Regions from separate parts of the Homo sapiens genome. Here all the other regions are linked to region 2. The links are contacts of gene promoters, found by promoter capture Hi-C in blood cells and fetal thymus (Javierre and others, 2016). All regions are on one chromosome and are shown on one strand. Each heading gives the region's core, a stretch centred on a gene start or on the middle of the fragment in contact. The rest is flanking DNA. Distances are from core to core; before and after follow the strand shown. Region 1 holds the start of NIT2 (nitrilase family member 2). Region 2 holds the start of PCNP (PEST proteolytic signal containing nuclear protein). Region 3 holds the start of TMEM45A (transmembrane protein 45A). Region 4 holds the start of LNP1 (leukemia NUP98 fusion partner 1). Region 5 holds the start of CMSS1 (cms1 ribosomal small subunit homolog).

Evidence for each region. The method cuts DNA at HindIII sites, captures the fragments that hold promoters and counts their contacts. A CHiCAGO score of 5 or more calls a contact.
Region 1: the fragment with the promoter of NIT2 here is called in contact with the fragment with the promoter of PCNP in region 2 in 7 of 17 cell types (fetal thymus, total B cells, total CD8 T cells and 4 more); the score reaches 9.8 in fetal thymus.
Region 3: the fragment with the promoter of TMEM45A here is called in contact with the fragment with the promoter of PCNP in region 2 in 1 of 17 cell types (monocytes); the score reaches 5.0 in monocytes.
Region 4: a contact is called between the fragment with the promoter of LNP1 here and the fragment with the promoter of PCNP in region 2, in 14 of 17 cell types (total B cells, total CD4 T cells, fetal thymus and 11 more). The highest score is 15.3, in total B cells.
Region 5: a contact is called between the fragment with the promoter of CMSS1 here and the fragment with the promoter of PCNP in region 2, in 2 of 17 cell types (fetal thymus and total B cells). The highest score is 13.8, in fetal thymus.

Annotation. Positions count from the first base shown.
Region 1 is chr3:100,330,856-100,336,006 of GRCh38, forward strand. It overlaps NIT2 (nitrilase family member 2), which reads left to right and starts at 3,902. Exons shown (of 10, transcript NM_020202.5): 1 at 3,902-3,943. The coding sequence starts at 3,937. RefSeq lists enhancers at 3,670-4,238, 4,332-4,381, 4,402-4,461, 4,582-4,661 and silencers at 3,902-4,231, 4,630-4,924. The HindIII fragment of the contact is 2,232 bases long and covers 2,531-4,762 here.
Region 2 is chr3:101,570,896-101,575,462 of GRCh38, forward strand. It overlaps PCNP (PEST proteolytic signal containing nuclear protein), which reads left to right and starts at 3,285. Exons shown (of 5, transcript NM_020357.3): 1 at 3,285-3,384. The coding sequence starts at 3,321. RefSeq lists enhancers at 2,496-3,441, 2,885-3,154, 3,255-3,384, 3,465-3,624, 3,645-3,804. The HindIII fragment of the contact is 5,212 bases long and covers 1,209-4,567 here.
Region 3 is chr3:100,488,945-100,493,872 of GRCh38, forward strand. It overlaps TMEM45A (transmembrane protein 45A), which reads left to right and starts at 3,675. Exons shown (of 6, transcript NM_018004.3): 1 at 3,675-3,984. RefSeq lists a silencer at 3,393-3,692. The HindIII fragment of the contact is 5,818 bases long and covers 2,508-4,928 here.
Region 4 is chr3:100,398,477-100,403,457 of GRCh38, forward strand. LNP1 (leukemia NUP98 fusion partner 1) reads left to right here and starts at 3,063. Exons shown (of 4, transcript NM_001085451.2): 1 at 3,063-3,963. It overlaps TOMM70 (translocase of outer mitochondrial membrane 70), which reads right to left and starts at 2,613. Exons shown (of 12, transcript NM_014820.5): 1 at 2,150-2,613. The coding sequence starts at 2,473. RefSeq lists enhancers at 1,031-1,950, 2,632-2,741, 2,792-2,841, 2,852-2,941 and silencers at 2,312-2,391, 3,002-3,081. The HindIII fragment of the contact is 4,606 bases long and covers 306-4,911 here.
Region 5 is chr3:99,814,783-99,819,604 of GRCh38, forward strand. CMSS1 (cms1 ribosomal small subunit homolog) reads left to right here and starts at 3,080. Exons shown (of 10, transcript NM_032359.4): 1 at 3,080-3,261. The coding sequence starts at 3,198. It overlaps HP09053 (a long non-coding RNA gene), which reads right to left. Exons shown (of 3, transcript NR_110821.1): 2 at 4,138-4,192; 3 at 1,850-3,690. LOC105374010 (a long non-coding RNA gene) reads left to right here and starts at 3,080. Exons shown (of 5, transcript NR_189163.1): 1 at 3,080-3,261. RefSeq lists a silencer at 2,761-3,515 and enhancers at 2,931-3,805, 3,037-3,346. The HindIII fragment of the contact is 550 bases long and covers 2,942-3,491 here.

The sequences.
Region 1 (5,151 bases), core at 2,652-5,151, 1.2 Mb before region 2:
CTCTAATCTTGCTGATTGTGGGTCTTAAATACCTCCTGAGAGCTCCTGCCCCATCCCTTGGAGGAAGGAATGCTGATAACATAAAGTTCCCATAAAGGCCAATAGAACTGGGTTTGGAGAGCTTCTAGATAGCTGACCACGTTCGTGGAGGTTCTGGAGGGCATGGAAGCTTTGTGCCCCTCCTCCCATACTTTGCCCTACACATCTCTTCCTTGTAGCCTTTGCAACATCCTTTATAATAAACCAGGAAACATGTTTCCATGAGTTCTGTGAGCTGCTCCAGCAAGTTATTCAAACCCAAAGATGGGATCATGGCAACCCCAACTTGAAAGTGGTTGGTCAGAAGTTCTGGAGTCCAAGACATATGACTGGTGCCGGTGTGTCTTCCTCAGGTAGACAGTGTTGGAATTGAATAGGAGGATACCCAGCTGGTGTCCGCTGCTTGGTGGTAGGGAGGAACCCCCTCACATTTGGTCCCAGAATTCTTCTGTGATGATGATTGTTGTGGTGGTGATGTAAGAGCAGAGGAAAAACACGGAGAGTTTTCCTGGAACACATATCCACCTCTCCCCCAAAAACTGAGCTCACGTTCCCCTAGACTCACCTCATACTATGAAGCGGCAGCTGGAGGAATGCTGATGGAAAGGAGAGACCAGTTAGGAAGTGCCTGTAGCAGTCTCCCCAAGGTGAGGAAGGCCTACCTGTGGACGGTGGTGGTGGGAACTGAAAGGAGGAATCAGGGACATTTCCTGAGAGTAAGAAGAGCCCTGTCCCTTACCAGAGGTGGGGAATGAAAGACTCGAAAGTCACTGAAGTGACTTAGGTTTTCTTGGAGGGCTGGAAAGCAGGGAGAATTAGAAAACTGGGCATAAATTGTGGTGCCTGTAAGTGCTGGGTGGAGAAGCTCTTTTGGAGGTGATACATTTAGTTTCACATAGTTGAGTTGGAACTGATGTTGAGACATGTAAATAGAGATGGCGGCAGCCGGAGATGTTGAAATAGGTCCTCTGGAGTAAAAATAAAAATCTGACTAGTAACAGCCTGGAAATGGTCATTAAGCCTGTGAGACATGGGTAGAAATGAGAATAGAGACTGAAAAGGCACACCAGATTTTTAGCTGGGCTTTCAAGATCCATTTGGCCTGGTAGTTTTGTTTTTTGGCCTATTTTCATACGTCAGATGAACAGGAACATGGAAACGAAGGCAGAGCTGCTGCAGAGAAGGGACAGTGAGGGGAGTGGTGGTGGGGAGGGCTGCACAAACTTCACCCTTCAGCCAGATTCTTCTTCCTTTGCCTCTAAATCCTTTCACATACAGGTGAGGAAAAGGTCCTGAGGGTGAGGTGATTTGCCCTAGGTATTAACATCTAATCAGTGTCAGAGCCAGAACCAGAACCCAGTGACTAGCTTTTCCATTGTGCCCAGAAAGTTCTAAAGAAAGGTTTAAAAAGCGCACTTTCATTTAGCTTTTCCTTTTCTAGGAACACCCCTAGTGCCCAAGTCAGCAGTTTCCCTGCATGTGACAGAGGGACACAGTACCCATAGGCTTTTGGTCTTGATGGCCTTCTCCTGGTCCTGCTTCTCTCTCTCTCTTTTTTTTTTTAATGGAGTCTGGCTCTGTCACCCAGGCTGGTGTGCAGTGGCACAATCTCGGCTCACCGCAACATTCGCCTCCCAGGTTCAAGTGATTCTGCTGTCTCAGCCTCCTGAGTAGCTGGGATTACAGGTGTGTGCCACCACGCCCAGCTAATTTTTGCATTTTTAGTAGAGACGGGGTTTCACCATGCTGGTCAGGCTGGTCTCGAGCTCCTGACCTCTTGATCCACCTGCCTCCACCTCCTGAAGTGCTGGGATTATGTTAATTATTAAATCTAGGAGGAGGACACAGCTGTTCCTCCACCAGGCAGTGGCGCCCGGCCTGGTCCTTCTCCTCTAATGGCTCCTTCCCAGGCTCCACAGGCCCTTCTTCTTTTGCGTGTGCCTTTCATACTCCGCTTGTGTGTTCTCATCCAAATTCAGAGCTTCCTCTTAGTTAAAACTGCTGGTGACTCCCAAGTCAATTTCCAGCCCAGACATCTTCTGAGCTTGAGGCTTTGGTCCGGTTGCCTACTGGGCATCTCCACCTGGATGCCATGGCTCATGCCTATAAGGCCAGCACTTTTTGAAGCCAAAGTGGGAGGATCACTTGAGCCTAGGAGTTTGAGACCAGCCTGGGCAACACTGTAAGAATCCACTTCTAAAAAAATGAAATAATTTGCATTTTGAACAAGCACTTCAAATAACATTTCCAGCCAGGTTTAGGACCACTATTAGTTACAATGTTAGTCCAATAAATTTGGAAATCTAGATGAATTTTTTTAACAGGTTGTAAGTGACCACAGGTTGACCCTGAAACCTCATAGGTTAATAAGCATAGCAGAAATGAAAAGGTTTTTAAAGATCTTCCTGCTACAAAGCCAAGTCCAGATAGTCTCTTAAGCTGCAGAAAGACCATAACTGCTATGTATTTCCCCCCAATTTTTTTTTATGAAAGCTTAAAATTTTAAACTTCTACAAAGTTTTAATCTAGTACCATGAACAGCTGTGTCCTCCTCCTAGATTTAATAATTAACATTTTGCCATATTTGCTTTATCTTATGTGTTTTCTTTTTGCTGACGATTTTCAAGTCAAACATTCTGATGGTTCATCCCTAATACTTCCTCATTTTCTAAGAGTAAAGAATTGTCACAAGCACAACACTATAGCACACAAAATAATTCAGAAAAGCATCAAATATCTCGTTCATATTTAAATCTCCCTAGTTGCCCCCAAAATGTTTTTATAGTGTTCTTTTACAAACCAAGATCTGTTTCAGTATAAACTATTCTGGGGCATTCCAAAAGGTGGTTAAGTTTTGGATTTTTGTTCCACAAGTCTGACAAGGCACAAAAACACAAAACACGAAAATTAAAAAGCAATCTAATAAATAAAAATGCAAAAATCATAGTCTATAGGCTGGGCGCAGCAGCTCACGCCTATAATTCCAGCACTTTGGGAGGCTAAGGCAGTAGGGTCTTGAGCTCAGGAGTTTGAGACCAGCCTGGGCAAAATAGCAAGGCCCCACCTCTATTAAAAGTAAAAAACTTAAAAAAAAAAAAAAAAGAAAGAAAGAAAGAAAAAGAAAAAAGGAAAAGAAATAGCTAGGTGTGGTGGTGTGTGCCTGTAGTCCCAGCTACTTGGGAGGCTGAGGACGGAGGATCGCTTGAGCCGGGAGGTTGAGGCTGCAATGGGCTGAGACTGCTGCACTGCACTCCTGACTGGATGACAGAGTGAGACCCTGTCTAAAACAAACAAACAAAAAAGGATATTAGCAAAGAGATGACAATGTATTCGAGGACTGACTTGTTGAGGGCATGGCGTTGAACCCTCAGCATCTTTCCCGTTGGCCTAGCAGCCTTGTAGTCAGATTTTACAGACGTCTCGCGTGCCTAAACCAACCAGGGTCATTCCGTCCCCGTCACAGAGACTTGTTCAAATAGCTCAAGCCCATCAGCATACGGTGTTAACCTGGCCACAGAGGTGATTCAACCAGCTAGAAGTTCAGTCCTTTTGCGGAGAATCAGCAAACGCTACAAATCAGGGCTTTCCTCCCTGAAAAGTCTGGTTGTTAAGACATTCACCAGCACACCACCTCGACTTAGGCCGTTCCCTTTTGCCCTTTGCCTTTCGAGGCATGCTTTTTCCGGACTGTGTTGCAATTAACCATTTCTCGTTGGTCCGTCCTGGTGTTACAGGCGCACTGGAATGAACGCAGACCCTTCTCTCCTCCCGGCCGGGGCCAGGAGGAGGGGTGGGGCGGGGCCTCTGACGCGGTCCCCGCCCCACCGTAGCGACGCCGCGGTCCGCCGGATCTCCAGCGCTCAGTCCGCGCCGCAGGTGGTGCTTGTCTGCAGAGTCATGACCTGTAAGTGGCGCGGCCGCGCGCTGCAGCTCGAGTTCGGGCCGCGGGGGAGGCTTTGGAGCGGCGCCGGCGGTGGCTCGGCCGGCTCAGCCCCTCCGCCCCGCGTCCCCGCCGTGCGCGGCCTTCCCTGAGGCGGGCGTCCGCGTGGGTCCGGGATCGCGTGGCCGGGCGGCCGGGCGCACTCCCGGGATTCCAGGCTTCCGGGGTGGCGGGCGAGGCCCAGAAAGCACCAGGCCACCCGGCCGCGCCGGCACCCGCCGCGTCCTGCTTGACAGAGGCTGATGGACGTGTATTTCTCCACGGTGTGGGCCGCGGTGGTAGGATCCAACTCCCTTGGGTGTTTTCAAGTTGCGTGACCTCCTCCAGCCCCGCCCTGCACAAAGGTGCCCAGGCGGTTCTTCGTCTCCCCACTCACTTTCCAGCTCCAGATTTTGACTTGGATTCTTGCTGTGTCACTTACTTTGTTCAGTGACTTTGTGCAGCTTTCCCCCTGCAAGTCCCCTGTTTCTTTATTTGTAAAATGATGTTAATGATACCTCACACAATGATGTTAATGTGTGAAGGACCTGGCACATTGCTTTAAATGTTATTCCTTTGTTGTTTCCTTCGCTCACAGTATTTTATTCTTTTTTTCCGCCCCTTGGTAAGGTCTTCGTTGTTAGATTATGATGAATATTAGGGCAGCCTTAAAAGTCTTCACTTTACAGATGAGATGGAGTGACGGGCGTCTCCTCCTCAGCATGAGGAACTGCCCAGTGGCGGGGTTTCCCTGCTGCAGCATGTCTGTAGAGTGGGTCATTTGCAGAATGATAGGCAGTCCTAAGCTTAGTTGAGGACCCCGCCCTTGTGGGTGAGATGTGTAGGAGAGGAAGCCATCAGCGTAGCCATGGTGAGCTTTATCTTTCCCACCCTCGGAAGCACAGACATGGCCCGGCACGTGGCTCACGCCTGTAATCCCAACAGTTTGGGAAGCTGAGGCACGAGGATCGCTTGAGTTCACGAGTCAAGAGTTGGAGACCAGCCTGGGCAACATGGCGACACCTTGTCTGTACTAAAAAATACAAAATTAGCCCGGTGTGGTGGCACGCCCCTTTAGTCCCAAACTACTTGGGAAGCTGAGGAGGGAGAATGGCTTAACGCTGGGAAATGGAGGGGAGACGTTTAGTGGATTTATCTGCTGTTCTGATAACAGCTCAAAATATCTGTTTGCC
Region 2 (4,567 bases), core at 2,035-4,534:
ATTTAACCTTTATTATCCCAATGCCCTCAGTAACCCTATATGTATTATTCCATTTGTATAGTTATAACATATTCCATAACATTGTTATCCAGTACAAACTCACAGAATTAGCAAAATGCAGAATTAGAATTTAAGTCGAGTTTTTGTGTGGTGCAAAACTAATGCTCTTTGCCTTGGACTACATTGCCTATTCATTGTCAGAAAACGGTACCCCAAAATTTGGTGCTTTGACATGCTGAACTAGAGAAGCAGCCGCAAGGTTTCTCTGATCTCCCCACCCCACCTCCTGCCTCTCAATCCTCTGCCTCCCCCAAAACACGGGATAAGACTGTTCTTTGAAGTTTCTTATCTACCTAGAAACCACACACATCAAAGAACACAATTGCTTTCTATCTGCTTCCTCCCTGAAATTTCATTAACCAGAAGAAATTAAAACATATCACAAAGCCAGATACAGTGGTGCACACATGTAGTCCCAGCTACCTGTGAGTCTCAGATGGGAGGATTCTTGAGGCCAGGAGTTTGAGGCTGTAGTGTGCTATCATCATGCCTGTGAATAGCCACCACACTCCAGCCTGGGCAACACAGTGCGACCTGGTCTCATAAAAAAACAAAACTCACATCATAGAGGAAGAGACTGAAAATTAACCACCACACTTAGAGCCCAAACTTTGCCTCAAACTACTGTTTTTTGTTTTTGAGACAGGGTCTCACTCTGTCACCCAGGTTGGAGTGCAGTGGCGAGATCTTGGCTCACTGCAACCTTGCCTCCGGGGCTCAAGTGATCCTTCTATCTCAGCCTCCCTAGTAGCTGGGATTATGGGAGTGAGTCACCACGACTGGCCTTCGAATTATTATTGGTTCTCTAGTTTCACTTGGTTTACAAAGAGAATAATTTACAAGTGAATTTCTGCATTAATCTCTCCTAAAATCATTTACTACTCCTCTAAAATTGCCTGTAGCCCCCCCACCTCTCTCTCCCCTATGAAAAGTATTAAACTTCAACCATCTGACCCTTTTTTTAGTTTTCTTATTTTGTTGTATCATTCCCATGCTTATGCACATTAATTTTCTCTTGTTAACCTGTCTTTTATTAACAAGCATGTTGTCATGACTCTTTTGATGGGGAGGAAAGTGATCACCCCCTTTCCACCCCTTCATACTACACTACCTTTCCATTTCCTAACCCGTTTGTAGGAGGTTACTGAAGCTTGCATTAATTTCTTCAATAGATATTTATCCAGACTAGTATAATCCAGGTGCTGGGGAAACAGTGGTGAACAAGACAGGCACACCTCATGAAACTCACAGAACTGAAAGGTGAATGGATTACTATCTTCATCCTTTTTTTGTTTCGTTTTTTTCCTTTCATACCTAGTCCTGCACATGCATCCTTAACTTCTGCAGTGTGGTATATGGGAACTGGATCCGCTCCTAAATAGGTATGTGACTTCTCTGAGCTTTATCTTCTTCACTTAAAAATTACAAGCATCGGCCGGGCACGGTGGCTCACGCCTGTAATCCCAGCACTTAGGGAGGCTAAGGTGGGCGGATCACAAAGTCAGGAGTTCGAGACCAGCCTGGCCAACATAGTGAAACCCCGTCTCTACTAAAAATACAAACATTAGCCGGGTGTGGTGGCACGCGCCTGTTGTCCCAGCTACTCGAGAGGCTGAGGCAGGAGAATCGCTTGAACCCAGGAGGCGGAGGTTGCAGTGAGCCAAGACCATGCCATTGCACTCCAGCCTGGGTGACAGAATGAGAGACTCCATTCCACCCCCCATAAAAAATTACAAGCATCTGTAAATACATAATCTCAAATAAAAATCTTCGTGTATATCTCCATTTTTAAAATGATAGAAACGAGAGTCTCAATGATTACCTTGAAAAGATCACAAGGAAAATGAAACAAACATGAATTAAGTACCTGTAAGATAGTTTGCTGGTTACTTTTACATATATGATAAATGATGGATCAGGGACTTCAACCTAGATCACAAAATCACCACCACACTGCCCTGCTTCTGTCATGGGAAACACACTTTGATAATTTCTTCATTCTTTCTCCACTCCCTGGACTTGAAGCCCGAGAAGTAATCCATCCGCAAATATTGAACACTTTTTATATTCATATATGAAACGCACAGTACACAGTTTTTAAAAACTGGTCTCTGTTGTCAAGGAACTTTTGAGCCATTCAGAGAGACAACACTTAAAACACACACACACACACACACACACACAAACTGAGGGAAGTATGAAGTGACCAAATAATGGTATACAAAGATGATCTCATTTGATCCCTATTACCACTCTTTGAGGAGGTACTATTATTATTGCTCTTTTATAGAGAAGAAAAGGTAGCTCTGTAGGCAGTAAGCAAGTCTCAAGGTTACTCAAGCAGGAAAGGGCAAAACAGATTCAAATCCAAGTTCTGACTCCTAAGACTTTCTCTAACTATATATGGTAAGACAAACCCAGAAACTCCAGTTCCCTAAGCAAGTAATAGACCCCATTTGGCTAGGAGGGCTGGATAAATACTGAGAAAGGGGGAAGATGAAGCCGAAAAGGTAGGCTAGGGCCTAATGTAACTCACGGACTTCAGAATGCAGACTGTAGGAATCCACTAAAGGTTTCTTATTAAGGCAGAAATTACTGCAGTCTTAACTTGACATAGTAGTTTCTCAACTTGGTAGAAGCAGACTATACAAAAAGTAACTTTACAGTTGGCTACGTGACTTAGACAAATTACTCTCTCTGACCTCAACTCTTACAGGTAATTGAGAGGAGAATTCTATATTTGGACAATCGCCGTGATTAAACGAGTGTATGAAAGGCGTCTGAAGCTAGGGGGCGCTAGATAAACACTGATTTCCCCTTTAGGGAAAAAGAATGCAGGCTTTTTGTTTACATAGAGTTGGCAGGCATGCGTTATCCAGCAAGGCCGGAACGGAAGACACTCTCAGCCTCAGCTGCAACCACATCTGGGTATGCAGAAACCTTCTAAGATCCCAGCGTTTCCAGGGAGATGCTCCATTTCCCCTCACTTCTCCGGACCTGTCGCTAGACCATGAAGACCTGACTGCCCTCTAATAAAGTGCCTAGCCAGCACTCTTAGACCGCCCAACCTTCCCAGCTCTTCCTTCCGAGGCGGCTACTCGATGACATCACATCCACTTCCGCTTCCGAAGGCGGCCTCTTTTCATTCCTCGGGACCGCTCTAGGCTGCCACCACGCCGGCTGGCCCCAAAAACTCGATGGTTGTTGGGCGGGGTCGTGACGTCCTTGGCGTGGCTGCAGGGGAGGCCGCGGCGGGGAAAATGGCGGACGGGAAGGCGGGAGACGAGAAGCCTGAAAAGTCGCAGCGAGCTGGAGCCGCCGGAGGTGAACACAACCCCAGCGTCGTGGGCAGCGTGGGATGCTCCGGGCCTTTCTTTGAGCTCCCAGGGTGGGGGGAGTGGGGTGGGGCGAGAATGGGCGGATCTGGACCTCACCCGGCCAGGTGTTGGGCCCAGACCTGCCTCGGGCACGCCCGATGCGGCCCTCTGGGCTCCGGGCCTACATCGCCTCCTTGCCTGGGGAGAGCCGGCCACTGTTCGTCACCTCCTGGCCCCAGCGGAGGCCCTGATTCCGAGGAGAAGGGAGATGGGCGCCAGAAAGGGAGACCGAACTCGGGGTGGGACCAGGAGCGGCGGTGCAGGAGCCGCTACCGCCACACCGGAGACGCACATCACACAAAACACACACACCGGAGACGCTCATGAGACATAACATACACACAGTGCGAGCCACCGAGTAGTTGCCGCGGGAACTGGCCGCAGGCTGAGTTTCTGACGGTGCCGGCCTCTCAGTTACACGCAGGAGTTAATTACGCTTGCTGCTCCCTTTTCACTGAGGAGGTGGACAACTCCGGCCTGCTCTCTTTCCTTTACTTCCAAGTTTAATATTGACCCTGTGACAGGATGGGCCGAGGTGATGGAGGGGAAGAGGAATGCCTTTGCCTGCCCTCTGGTTTAAGCTGCGGGGTCTAGGGCTAAGGTTTGGTTGCTTTTCTTTGAAGTATCTCCCTTAGGCTGTTGCCAGCTGACCGCTTGCCAGATACTTAGGCGACTAAATAGTCTAGCGTGACTCTTCCTGTATTTTGTTACGACGTTAAACTCAGGTTACAGCTATCCTTATTCTGTCCATTCCACTCCCTAAATTCGGGTCTTGTGCGTGAAGGAAAAGAAACGTAATCTCTCCAGCTCCCTCTTTGCACATAACAAGACAAGTGACTTAACACGTGCGAGCTGTTTAAAATGTTTTTAGAACATTTTAAACATTATTCTCTATTCTGACCACCTTAGTTATCATTCCCGAAATTATTTAATATGAGAAAATAGAAACGATTAATAGCATATGAAGGCCACTAGTAGACCTACTAACATAATGTTTCATGTTAATTGCCTTGGGAACAAAAATTATTGAAAAGATTAAGTGTAATGTTAATTACTTTGGACCCAGGATTTCCTTTTTAAAAAACACGTACAATTCTGTTAGTTAAGCTGGAACTCCATCTCTCTCTTCC
Region 3 (4,928 bases), core at 2,425-4,924, 1.1 Mb before region 2:
GAATCCCCTAGCCTTTTGTCCAGCCTAACTCTGAAGGTCACACCAACCCAGCTGGCCTAGTGTTACCATTAAGAGAAAGAATGAAACATCATGCCCAAGAATGGTCAGGTCAGGATCCCAAATTTTCCTAACTCTCTGCTTCTTTCATCTGGAACATGACCCAGGAAGCAGCTGAGCAAGATGATCCCTTTCTGGAGAGAGTTACATCCAGTGACCAAACTAAATTGTGGTGGTCAGGAGGAGGTGAGGGAGATAGAGTCAGAAGTATTTTTTTAAACTTTTTCTTTCGAGCTAATTGTAGATGCACATGCAAGTTGTAAGAAATAATACAGAGAAAGCCTGTGTACTCATCACCCAGTTTCCCCCAATGGTAACATTCTGCAGAATTACATTATCTCAATATCTCAACAATATCCCATGGATACAGTCAAGCTATTAATAAAAATTTCCATCACCACAAAGATCCCTCATGTTGTTCTTTCATAGCCAAGCCTACTTGCCTCCTACTCCACCATCTCCTTAATACCTGGCAACCACTTATCTGCTCTTTATTTGTATAATTTTGTAACTTGAAGGATGTTGCACAAATAGAATTACAAAGTATGTATGGAAAGCATCCAGTCTTTCACATTCAGTATAAGGTCAGCTGTAGGTACTTTGGTAGGTGTTCTTTATCAAGTGTGGAAATTCCCTTCTATTCTTCTTTTTCTGAGCGTTTTTATGGTGCTGAATTTTGTCAAGTGCTTGTTCTACATTGATTGATATATTCATGCGATTTTTCTTTTCTTTAGCTTGTTCATATCAGGAATTGCATTGATCGACATTTGTTTTTTTTTTTTTTTTTGAGACAGAGTTTCACTCTGTTGCCCCATCTAGAGTGCAGTGGCAACTGCAGTCTCAACCCCCCAGGCTCAGGTGATCCTCCCACCTCAGTCCCACCTGTACCTGAGACTACAGGTGTGTGACACCATGCTGGGCTAATTTTCATATTTTGTGTAGAGATGGGGTTGTGTCCTGTTGCCCAGGCTGGTCTCAAACTTCTGGGCTCAAAGGATTCGCTGGACTTGGTCTCCCAAAGTGCTGGGATTACAGGCATGAGGCACCACGCCTGGGTTGATTGACTTTAGAATTTTGATTTTGCATCCCTGAAAAAAACTCCACTATGTTGTGGTGTATAATTATTTTTATATATTGCTGAATTCTGTTTGGTAATACGTTGTTAAAGATTTCTGCATCTTCACCTTGTTACAGCCTGGAAAAGGCGGGAGTCTAGGATTTCTACTCAGCCTCTGTTCATGTAGGAGTGAGTGGGGCCAGGGTTTTTCCTGTGGTGTTTGGCTGAAGTAGAGCCATTACTGCCTAAAAGTTTTTCTGTCTTTCTAGGCTTCCCATTTCCTGGTCCTTGACTAGAGAGAGCAGGGTTCGTTGAGACTTTTTTGTCTGTGCCTGTTGTCATTTTTGGGTTGCTGGCTTCTTCAGCTCCAAGTTTGGGGCAAAGAAACAACAGAAAGCAAGCCCAGGGAACTCAGCATCATGTCATTCCTTGGGTTCTGAGATTTCTAGCTCATCTGTCTTCTTCTCTCAACCTCTTGGAGTTTCCAATGTTGGAAAATATATGAAGTCCAGGATTTTTTGTTGTGCTTAGCAGGAGAAATGGAATACTGATGTCCACTCCATCTTCCTGAGAGCAGAAGGATTCTTTTTTTTTTTTTTTTTTTTTTTTTTTAGTGATTTTTGGTCAATATCAGATGCCTGTTGATGGTAATGAGTGTGGAGGGTTAATCAATACCTTGACTATCAGCCCACTGTTGAGCGGCTTCTGTGATAAAAAGTGCAGCATTGTGAGATTACAAATGATTCAGAAAGCTGAACACATGACACATTACTTTCAAGGGCTACATTCAAATGTTGCTCCTTTGTGGGTTTCCTTGACTGCCAGAAGGATTGGAGTGTTGTGGTTGCACTCATGTAGTGCCACTTTACTTGCTGAGCAGGCTCCTGCATTTGTGGGGGTCTTACAGAGTTATGATAACATTGCAGTCAGGTCCATTGAAATTGAGGTGTCTGACTATCCAATTGTGGCAGACAGACTTGTAGGTGGCCCCTGTGATCTCTATTCTCTGGCTTTTCAGAACCGTGGATGGCCATTGGGAGCCTAAGAGCAGTCTTTCGGAGCTAAGGGCAGCCTCTAGCTCACATCTAGAAAGAAACTGGGGAGTCAGTCCTAGAGCTGCAAAGAAATGAATTCTGTCAATGACCTGAGAAAGCTTGGAAATGATTCTTCTCCAGTAGAGCCTGCAGATGACAATGCAGCCCGGCTGACACCTTGATTGCACCCTTGTGAGAGCATAAGCAGAGGATCTAGTTTGGCCATGCCTGGACTTCCAACCTTCAGAAACTGTGCAGTGATATACATGTGTTGTACAAAGCACTAAGTTTGTGGGAATCTGTTGCGCAGCAATAGATGACAAATACACCAACAAACAAGACATTATCATTGTAGTGAAAGCTTTGGACACTCATAATAAATTCTGACCCCTGCAGGGATGGCAAATTGCAGATGAGTTTATGTATCTATGATGGAGTGCTGCAAACATATGTTTGGAGACATCTGTGGTAGGCTGGGATAGGTGCTGGGTCTTGGAGATTATTTTAATATCTATTTTATAAGGTAGTTGTAAGAATTAAATGTGATAATGCAGGTAAAAACTGTTTAATGCGGGGTCTGGTGCCTTCCCTGGCGTGCAGCCCAGTGAGTGTGGCTCTTGCCCACTTAATATTTCAATGAGGGAACGGTTCTGTCAATATGCACAAATTATAATGGCAATTGATTTGCAGATCTCTTCTTTCCTCCTCTCCTTCTAACTCACTAATCAAAAAACTGGTTAACCCTCCAACTGCTTTCCCAAGTTCAAAGCAACGTTTGGCGCAGTCCTTTCTCAATTCTCACACAACAAAGCAGTATTTCTCGGTTCCCTACAACGACCATCACTCAATACAAAAAACCAAGCAGGTCTGCCAAACCACTCTCATACCCAGTCCTGGTCATCTCCGCAGGAACAACTTCAATTCTGGTTAATAAGGACTTCAACGAAGGGTTCATTAAGGTTTTCCCTCCACCGAAAGAAAGAATACCGTCCCCAGGGAGCAGGCTCTTGGGCCCTATTATTTGCTCCCTGGAGAAAGTGAAGAGAGAGGAATCCCAAGGCGTGGCCTGAACGCCCTTTGGGGGCGTGGGCAGCCCGGAGCCCCAGCCTCTTCCACTCCAAGCACCAGGCGCGTCTTATTTTCAGCCCCCAAACGGCTACAAATCATCCGCCTTATTTTCAGCCTCCAAACGGCTACAAATCATCCTGTTTAAACAAAGCGGTCTGTCTAAAAGGAGGGGCATAACAGGGCCGGGGCAGGGGCAAGACCTGGGAGTAGGCAACCTCCCTCTCTGCCCCGAGCCGTCCCGGCCGCGCAGCCGCCGAGTGCCACATCAGCGACGGCGCTGCACTTCCACATTCCCTTAGGATGCAGCCAGCGGGCCTGAGAGAGGGGCGGGCCCGAGGCCCTCCGGAGTGGCGGGCCGCCCGGCCAATCGGCAGCAAGTGAAGAGCTGCGGCCACCAATGAGCTGGGGCTTGTGCCAGCCGCGGCCGCCGAGGCCCGTGCCCCGCGGGGGGAACAGATGAAGCACATCTGGACAGCTGTGCGGCCTCCTCGCGGGCCGACGTCAGCCGAGCACGTCCCCCACGTCCTCTCCTTCTCGCCACTTATTATTTATTCGTTTTCCCAAAGAAGCGACTAGGGACCCAAGTTTAAAAATTCCTCCCCCCACCCAATGCGAGACGTGGCCAGATCCCATCCAACACACGGTTTAATTTTCATGGGGCTCTGGGATCAAAAGAACAGAAACAGCAACAACAAAAGCCCAGCCGCTGTCTGATTTTAAGCTGGCAAAGTGGGAAAAATAAAGTGTTGAGTAAACAGACCAAGTTGGGTAAGTTTTGGATACGTGCTGGATATCATATTTCTCTTGCCGTGATCTCTATCCTGTGTCTTTTTACTGTTCTCACCAGCTTTCTCTTCATCAAGGGGAGAAAAGTAACACTTGCTGCGACAAACTGGACCCTTCGCTCCCTTCTCTTCCGTTTCACTAACATTTTAATTTAATTTTTTTGGTTTGCTATTCTTTTTTTTTTTTTTTTTTTTTTGGTGAGCTAGTTTTAAATATCCTGGGAGCAGCAATGTGACTGATATTCTGTTGTAAACCTCTAACTCCAAAATTGAATCTATTGATAAATTTATTTCTCTATTTTCTTTCTGTGAAAATACTGTGGGTATTTGTAAAGCCAAAATCGTTTTTTATCCCCAACTCTGGGACTGTTTTGATGGGAGATTGAGAAAATTATCTGATCTTTTCAGAATTAACACGTTTGCTTCTGTTAATAGGATGTCTAATATAAATTACGTAAAACCTGGGTTATGCAGGTAGTTGCTGGATTTTTCACTTAAATCTGGAGGTAGTTGCAAGCCAAATATATATCTTTTCGGTATTCTCCTATCCATAGTGGGAGACCTGAATTCCTTTATAATTGTTAAAAACAAACAAACATGTGACAGACCACTTGTGTGTTCATAAACTTATAATTGTATATATATACTATATAGTATATATGCACTATATAGTATGGTATATATACTATATACATGCTATGTATACACTATGCTATATGGTGTATATGCTCTATGTATGCTATATAGTATACTCTATATACGCTATATATTTTGTTGTTGTTGTAGTTTGTTTGTTTGTTTTTGAGACAGAGTCTCACTCTTGTCGCCAAGGCTGGAGTGCAATGGCACGATCTCGGCTTACTGGAACCTCTGCCTCCCGGGTTCAAGTGATTCTCCTGACTCAGCCTCCCAAGTAGCTGGGATTAC
Region 4 (4,981 bases), core at 1,813-4,312, 1.2 Mb before region 2:
TTACCTACTATTCTTCCATGATTAAAACTAAATTAACAAACGAAATAGAAAATGACTGGAGAATTTCAGACATCCAAAATTGATGTAAGACAAGTGATAATTAATTCAAATAATCCTCTTGATAACTACTTTTAATAGCAGCAGTGAGCTATTATAAATGATCATAATGAGAATCATCAATTTTTAGTACTGAAAGAAACAGAAGAGATCTAATATTTTAATCCTCTTATTCTACAGGGATGACGCTAAGGTCAAGGAGACAAAATGACTTTCCCAAAGTGACAATGCTGGAGAGCCCACTATAAAGCTTACAAATCCTAGTTCTAACACAGTCCATAAGTTCTTCTACTATCCAGTCATAAACCTTTTAGAAAATAGGTAATGCTTCACTCTCCCATAGGAAAGATCATATGGCTTTCTCATGGCCTAGCACAATGCCTCACACACTGCAGATACTAGTTTGTTCATTCCTACACCAAAACTTCCTTTAAAGCTAATTTGACATCCTAGTAAAAATATCTTCGCCCGGGCGCGGTGGCTCACGCCTGTAATCCCAGCACTTTGGGAGGCCAAGATGGGCAGATCACCTGAGGTCAGGAGTTCAAGACCAGCCTGGCCAACACAGTGAAACCCCGTCTCTACTAAAAATACAAAAATTAGCGGGGCATGGTGGCGCGCGCCTGTAGTCCCAGCTATTCCGGAGGCTGAGGCAGAACTGCTTGAACCCAGGAGGCGGAGGTGGTGGTGAGCTGAGATCGCACCACTGCACTCCAGCCTGGGCAACAAAGTGAGACTCCATCTCAAAAAAAAAAAAAAAATTCAACCTGAATAGTATAATATGGAAATGACTTGCATACATATTTAAGTGTATACACTTGGATACAATTAGAAGTTACTTGACCAACTGTATATACTTATGTATAAAACTGGGAGATATTTGACCAAACGTTTCTCTGACCTCGACTTACTCTGGTACTACCATTGAACAACTCCAGACCCAGAGAAAATCCACCACACCCAATCCCAGTATTGTCAAATGCAGCCAGACTAATTCTCTGCACAGCTGTCAGATACCAAAAGGATTTAACAGTCAGTTCACCAAAACCATACAAAGCAGTTCACTAAATAATCCAATGCTTGGCCTCACATCAGAGAAACTGTATCATGCATATTAGGCTTGGTCATGTACATTTCCAGGTGAAATGGAAAAACTGAATTTAAGATGCTTCCAATCAAAAAGTTTAAGAAGTCACTCCCATTTTTTTTTTTTTTTTTTTTGTATGTGTGTGTAGGCCTGGACCTGGGGCAGGGGGCTGTGTGCAACCAAGCCTGGTGAGCATTGCTGTGGCCGCTACTCTTGTGCAGCAAGAGGGGACAGTGCAGTGCAGAGCGTTTTCTGACAAAGGCCAAGGGGTCCGGAGTGCAAAAGGACACCTTGGGGCTGGGGCATGGCAGGAGAGGTTACGGGCGCTGAGTGCTTGCAGCCAAGGGGGCTTCGGGGTTGCTGAGAGAGGACGAGCCTTGGGAGCTTGACAGTTCTGCTTACAGTTCAGAGGCTGTAAAACAAATGCCACTGAACACCATTTCACTCTTTAGAACCTGTGTAGTCTTTCTTTTTCTATGTAGAAAGCCATCTAATCGTTTTTGTTTTTGTTTTGCTTTTGTCAACTAACCGTCACTGTAGTTGCCCACTTACCCCCAGCAAAAACACACTCCAAAAGGGGGAGTGGCTCATTATTAAAAGGCTCTTAGCGATTAGGTTGTAGGCTTTGGAAATCACAGAAACAGTTCGTATCACGATGTACCAATTGTTAATCGAATTTAGCTTCCTTCACTTATTAAATACAATCATCACATTTGCAAATGCCCCACTCCCATCTACAACACTAGGGATAAATGCTGTGTCACTGAGAAGAAAAGCAAAGGATTTTTCTGAAACCAAAAGCAAACTGTCAAAGAATGCCAGTAACCTGTCATCGAGCTACTCTATGCCCTCCACTGGCAGCCAGAAATGAGTCTCCCTAAACCCAAGTGTTGTGCTGCCGCTTGGCAGCTTCCGTCTGATGGGAAGCCCCCTCACTGACACAACCCGCCAAGGAAAAGCTGCACGAGCCAGTTTCCTCCTCTACGGCCTGGGGCTGCTTCTCACCATGTCCAAGTGAGCACCGGGACCTTCAGGGTGTCCGCTGCCCGGGGCCGGACTGGCCCTGCCCTCCGGGGTCTTCCGTTCGCTGTTGCGCTTCAGGCCGCTGGCGTCGCCCCGGCCTCTGGCCTCCCGGCGCCGTTGCTGCCGACTCCACAGGTATATGGCACCCGCGCCCAGCAGCAGGGGTGCCCCGACCGCCAGAGCCAGCTGCCATCGCGGCAGCCCCCCCGTGCCCGGGCCCGCAGTCCCGCCGCCGCCCACCCCACTCCCGGAGCTCGGTACAGCGGCTGCGACCACCGCTGCCTCCACAGGTTTAGAGGCGGCCATGACAAGTGTCCTCTGCCACCGCCTCCCTGTCTGTCGCGAGCGCCACAATCACCAAACAGCGTGCGAAGGAAGACCGAGGGAGGGAAGGAAAGCAATGAGCGAGCGAGCACGCTAGGCAGAGAGAGCGGACGACAGAAAAGGGCCAGAGGTCACCGGAAGCCCAGGGCATGCCGGGCCAGACCTGGCCGTCCTTCTCCTCCAGTATCAACCGAAGAGGGAGAGGAGGGGCGGAAATCACTTCCGGGTTAAGGGAAAGCGTGGGTGTGAGTAGGAGTCTTCGGAAACCCTTTTTCTTTCTTTTCGCCCCGCTGCTGTTCGGGAGATGGACTTCTGGAGTCCCCGTCGTAGCTGGTGTTGTCCCCTCTACCTTCAGGAAAGAAGGGCAGATGGCCCTCTTGCCTACTGAAGCCGAGGAGGGGCGCGTATACAGCGGGCTAAGGGCGCTCAAGAGATCCGAGTGGAAGAAAAAGCAGCGGCACAGCACTGGAATGGGCGGGAGTGGCAGAAGAGTTGTGAAGGCTATTGGCTAGCAAGGGTGGTGGGCGGGGCGTAGACCGAGCTACCCAGTTTACTGGTCGATTTCGGATCCAGTTTTCCAGTTATAGCCACGTTGGCACCTCTTGAACCTCTGTGGCCGTTAGCACGGTTTTCTGCCCGCGTGCCCGAGAAACCAACGGATTAGAAGGACTTTTAAAGATGTGTGAGGAAAGAGCTCACCGCTGAAGAAGGCTGCTGCATCACTGAACTTCTTATCACTAACATAGCGAGATTTTAGTTTGGACGAATTTGAGGTTATAGGGGAGATAGCGATGGCAGAAGACTAGGTGGAAATGGCACATCTAGGTTGGCTGCAGTCGAAACGGTTTGAGCGTGGTCGCTGTGGCTCATCGTCGGCACCAATTAACGAAGCGATGACATCTGCGTTGTTAGGGGTTTCTTAAACTGAGTTGGTAGAAATGCGAAGCGTCAGGGTTCCCGCCGGCTTCGAGCCTTTCTTGGCGTATTTGTATCTTGAGCTGATTTCTGCGTCAGCCCACATCTCGCTCTGATCCGCACGCCCCCCGGGTTGTTTTGCAGTAGCAGTCTCAGCCCTCTTCTCGTCTCATTCCCAAATCGTAATTTCAGTTCACAGCTTTTTATCTATAATAGCTTTATCAACTCTTTTTCCGATGCTCTGCACCAGATCTCTTAAAATATAAAATTACCTTGCAAGGTATTGTTTGGAATACACGGTATTTTCATGAAGACAACTATTAATAGAAAAATCAGAGTCCAGAACTATGGTTCTCCATTTCTGGTATACTGGTTTGCAGAAGCCTTACATTAAGATTTCATAAATGATTGTTTTGCTGTTAAGTGCAACAACATCACAGTAGAGCTACATAAAGATTGAAAGGAGATATTTTATCAAGTGGCACCAGAATGGACTGATTAAAATAGAATGGCCTAATTGGAAAGAATTTCAGGATCACCGGTTTCTCCTGCTTCATGTAAGTTCCTATTAGTAAATTGCCTTCAGGCAATAGGGTTTCTTAGCAACAGACTAAAAAAATGGGCTAAAAATAGCAGTGGAATTGAGTTGATCGTTGCAGGCAATAGGCTTTTCTCCCCTCCTGATCCCCCAATCCCCAAAGGCAAATTTTCTGCCCCTTAATATAAGCTCTGCCTTGCCTTTTTCAGAACACAAGTTAGGATTTTTTTTTTTTTCTGAAATTTCAGTTTTGCTGTGGCCTCTTGGAGGATTGTAGAGTGCTAACAATTACAAACTTGATAGGAACTAAAACATATTTGAAGTTTTTTTTTTAAACCTTTTTCTTATTTATTGGAGTAAGCAATACACTGTTACGGTTAAACTCCAAAAGTTACAGAGTTTACTGTGAAAAGTCTTCCTTCAGTCCCTGTCCTCAGCTGCACAGTTCCCCTCTCCAAAGGGAATCGGTGTTATTTTCTTGAAACATTTTTTGGATTAATATTTATCTAAAGGCCTGATTTTGTTTGGCTTTATTTTTAAGGTTGGCATTAGTAAACGAATCTGTTCTGGTTACTTTTATACTTTGATAAACATCTCATTTCCATTCTCTAGCCTATGCTATTCTCTCATTTTCTCCTCCATTTCCTAATTGATGGTACTGTAGAGCCAAATAGAGTGTCGCTTACTGGCTTTGGGACCTTACTGATCTGATGCATGTTTTTCTAATCTGTGAAATGGTGAAAACATCTACCTCTCAGGCTATAGTAAAGATTTAATTAGAGAATATTTAAAGTTCTTTTGATGTTTGTTACAAAGCAATAGATATTTGATGATTAGTTCTCAGTTTTTCTAAATTTTAAAGTAAAGAAGTAAAATACTGCCTTTCATTTCTAAAAAATTAAAGTTCTGTATATGTGAACATAGACATTATCTTTTTCTTGGTAGATTAGTGGAACTCAACTGAAGAAGCTTTCTTCACCTTTGATCTGTATCTTAGGAGGCAGTTAAATGAGATAGTCTAATGGACTAGGTTGTGG
Region 5 (4,822 bases), core at 1,830-4,329, 1.8 Mb before region 2:
GAGGCATAGAGAGGTACATACAACATGCTATTGTTGATATTGTTACTACCATTATTGTCTACATGATGCAAAAGTTTGAATGCATTATGATGGTTCCTGAAGTACACTTATAGGCTGGGCTTATTGACTAAGAACCTCTGCACTGATTAAGACCTTTTCATTGTGTGGTGAGCATTCACGAAACAGCCTTCAAACTTTATCGCTCTCTTACTAATTCAGTTTTTGCCAACCTTTCACATCATGGCATCCATAGAAAATGGTAATATCTGTACAACACTAGAGTGAAAAGATGATGATACCCTCAACCTGAGGCAACTGCCCCAAGGTCACTGCTTCCTCCAAAGACTGCAGGGGTCAGTCTTCAGCCCACCCATGCCAGGTGGGAAGCTCTGCTCAAATCCATTATTCATCCTGCACAGTAATACCAATTTAGCTTTCCTAAAACAATACTTCCATCATGTCCTTTGCCTCTAATAACAACGACAAAAATCCAGAATTCTTGGTCTGATACTCAAGATTAAGGCATGGAGTTGGAAGAGACCACAGGAATCATGAAATTGCTCCCCTTTATTTTACAGACTCACAAAGAAATGCCCAGCAAAGTTTAATAACTTATTCAAAGCAACATTGCAATCTTTCTGCCAAGGAACTATCATTTACCCTATCCATTTTTGCCGACAGACATCCATTGTCAAGTGCTACCTCCCAGTTCGCCCCATTGGGAAATGAATGCTTCCTCCTTTAAACTCTAATAATACTCATTCAGATACTGAACAGTAAGAGGGAGCAGAAAAAGACCTAATAGTTATTTCAGCCTGAGCTTCCCTGTGTTAGATGATATGATCAGATACTGGAGAGTACGGTTTTACAATACACTGATTTATAAACCAGGATGCCTATTCACTAATAACCAATTCACTAATAACAGAACAAACAGAACAGAAATGGATGCTACAACTTAGGTTGGCTATTCAATATAATCTGGGGTCAGTAAACTTTTTTCTGTAAAGTTAGAGCAAATATATGAGGGAATAGTAATAAATAGTAAATATATGAGGGCTACAGTCTCTGCTGCATATTTTTCTTTACGTTTTTGTTGTTGTCGTTGTTGTTTTGTTCTGTTTCTTACAATGCTTTAAAAATGTAAAAAATGGCTGGACACAGTGGCTTAGGCCTCTAATACCAACACTTTGGCAGGCTGGAGTGGGAGGACTGCTTGAAGCCAGGTGTTAAAGACCAGCCTGGGCAGCAAAATGAGACGCCATATCTACAAAAAACAAAAACAACAACAAAATAACCAAGAATGGTGGCATGTGCCTGTAGTCCCAGCTACTCGGGAGGCTGAGGCGAGGTGGAATATAATGTAAGACCATTCATAGTTCATGGTACAAAACAGGTATCAATTCCCATTAATGCATAGACACTCCATAATTTAGTATTGCCAGACTTCTTTTTTTTTTTTTTTTTTTTTTTTTTGAGACCGAGTTTCGCTTTTGTCAACCAGGCTGGAGTGTAATGGCACCATCTCGGCTCACCGCAACCTCCACTTCCCGGGTTTAAGCAATTCGCCTACCTCAGACTCTCAAGTAGCTGGAATTACAGGCGCCTGCCACCATGCCCGGCTAATTTTTGTATTTTTAGTAGAGATGGGTTTCGCCATTTTGGCCAGGCTGGTCTGGAATTCTTGACCTCAGGTGATTCACCCACCTCGGCCTCCCAAAGCGTTGGGATTACAGGCTTGAGCCACCGCGCCCGGCCCATACTTCTTAATTTTGTGATTTATTGCCTGAAAAACGGTCTCGCTGTGGTGTTTTTTTTGTATTTCCCAGATTAATAATCAGACTGAATTCTTTTCATGTTTATTAGCCATAGCAACTCCTCTTCCACACTGGCATTTCTTATCTTTTTCAAAAATCTATTAATCACGAAAATCTCGTCATCTACATTTCTTCACAAAAGCCATATTACTTTTGATCTTTATAGATTATTTTACATTTGCCATATTTATACATAATATCTTCCCTTTTGGGGCATTTAGAGTGTGCGGACAAAGTCTAGGCAGTAATGCATTTATAAAACATCTATGAGTTGGGTGCACACGGGGTAATTTTCCACATATGGCTAATCCTAGCCTCATCAGATTAAGTTTCCCTGTCTTGTCATTTCCGAGGATGTATCCTATTAGAAGTCTAGCCCTTTATTCCTACAAATTGAATTTCCACTACTGTAGGCTAACATCTGAATGGACTCATCTTACTATTCCATGCATAGTACCAGGCACGTTGCGTGCTTTTACTACATTTTGTATAATTTTTACGTCTGTGTTTGATGTCCTGAAAAATACCGTCCACAATTACTTCACAGCTAGCCCCAGCACTTGGCGCCCAGCGGGTTTTCCTAGTCCCTCCCTGCCAAATCACGTTGGGACTGAGACAAGAGGCACTGCGGGTCTCTTACCTATAGTTACGAAGCAATGGACTCCCTTATTACTTCGTTTCCCAAATAGGGGGTGGGACACACAACCGAGGGAGTATGAGGAAAACAACTTGCGGGTCTTCGAGCCACTTGCGTCTTTCTGTGGGCGAGCCTTTCCAGGCCAATTACATTTTCTTTACTCATATTGCATAAATAGCAGAACTACATTTACCACAAAGGCCCGACATTCATGGTCATGGATCCTTGCGCATGTTTTCTAAGAGCAAACTGTACAAACACATAAACTCTGAAACACTGACGCACAAGCGAAAACACACGCACATGTTTGGGTCTTCTCCCGCTGCGCAAGTTCTTTGAAACTGAGCGGAGAAAAATCGTCTTCACATGGTGTCTCACACTTTCGACACAATCTTATCGGGAAACGTAACACGTAAACAAAATTTTTTAAAATGCATTATCAAAAACGATGACAATCCCTTTCGTCTTATGTTCCTTTTTGTCTTTAAGCTTTGGGGGGATTTATGTTGCGTTTCCAAACTGCTTCTGCCTGTCGGCGCCTGTGTGGAAACTGCGACGAGTCTGGGAGCGGCTGCCGGAGAGGCGGGGCAGAGGTGTGACGTCATCGCCGCGGGGCGGAGGCGACAGTGTCTAGCGGGAGCTCCGCGTGTAGCTACGCCGGCCGCCTGGCTTTGAGACAACGTGATTCTCCGCAGCTGGTCGCCTACCCGTGATGTTCTGCCCACGTCGAGACCTGAGCTGAAATGGCAGACGATCTCGGAGACGAGTGGTGGGAGAACCAGCCGACTGGAGCAGGCAGCAGCCCAGGTACCCACTCTGTGCCCGCGCTCCTACGGGGCCTCTCCCGGAGCCCTTCCGTGCGCCTCAGCCCTGGTCGCTTCTGGCGATCGCGGTGTTTGCCCAGCAGGGGTGTGCACCGCCTTGGGAGCGCGCAAGCATCTCGGGGAAAATGGTGCAAGAGATTCTTTAACACGTGAAACAGACAGCTGTGACATTAACTCAGATCTGTCTGCCAGCCAGGAAGGATCCTTTCCACAAGCTTTCTCTTTTCCTTATTTCTTGAGAATGGATAAGACAGTTTTTGTGAAGAGAGGCAACTTTGTATGATGGTTAAGGGTGACCCATGAACTGCTTTCAATTCAGACTGAGGTCAGAAGCAGGGGTTGCTGCTTCAGACTCCCTCCATTCAAATCACGACTCCAGTATTCTGATACTGTTTAGCCTCCTTTTCCTCATCTGTAAAATAATGATAACAATAATGTCCATTTCGTAAAGTTGTGAAGATTAAGTGAAGTTAGTACAGTAATGCACTTTAGCATAGTGCTTGACATATAATGTGTGGTAAATATAAGTTACTGTATTTCTTGTGGTCATCATCATTATCATGGAATTTGGAATAGTAGAACTGGAAGGAGGCTTAAATAGAGATCATCCTTTGAACTCACTTATTTTACAGATGAGAAACATAACCTAAAGATGTCAAGTAACTTGACAAGTTCACAAAGCTAGCTCCTTTCAGAAACAATACTAGAATTCAGTTAACACAATTTGAATAGTTTCTACTATGCTCTGCTGTGTTTACCAACTCCTGATGCAGTGGGCATTTCATCCCCAAGTAGAGTAGCGTTAAGTGACCCCCCATGTCAGGCTAGCCTTGAACTTTTTAAGTTCCATCACACCTACCATGCAATTATTGGTTGGTTGGTTTTTATCACTCCTCAAGGTCTGCCTCTTTTCTCTACAAGAGAAGACAGGGCCAAAGTCAGATTCATACTTCTGTCATCCACAGGGCCCTGCACATGTTAGACACTTGATACCTATTTGCTGCAAACAATCTTGAAATACTAGTTGTGAAATATCCATTAAAAATAACCAACTTCATTTGTTGCATTGTTTCCGGAAGGTCAAGCCTTCAGGTACAAACTAAGCAGATGTCATTTTTAGAAAGGTAGCCAATACAACATTTCCTTGATTAAACTTCCTGACTCTTTTGCAGCCCTGTGGTGTTCCACATTTACTTTAATAACTACCCCTCCCAACTCAGGTGTTAAAAAGCTCTATTTTATGATATGATTGAAGATGAACAGAGGCCATTTAAGAAATAGTTGAATTCTGTTTGAGTGGTGAAGGGGATCCCAATTCTTGGTTCTAGTCCTCACTAGCTGTGTGACTTTCAAGTTATTCATCCGTTGGAAGAAAGGCAGTCAACATGTATTGAGTATCTATTATGTGACAAATGTCTTCATAAATATGAATTGATTTAACTTTCATAACATCCCGAAAAGGTAAGTATTCTCTTCATTTGTATAGGTGAAGAAACAGAAAAAAGTTAAGTCGTGTTCTTAGGAACACACATTGAAGAAGAGGT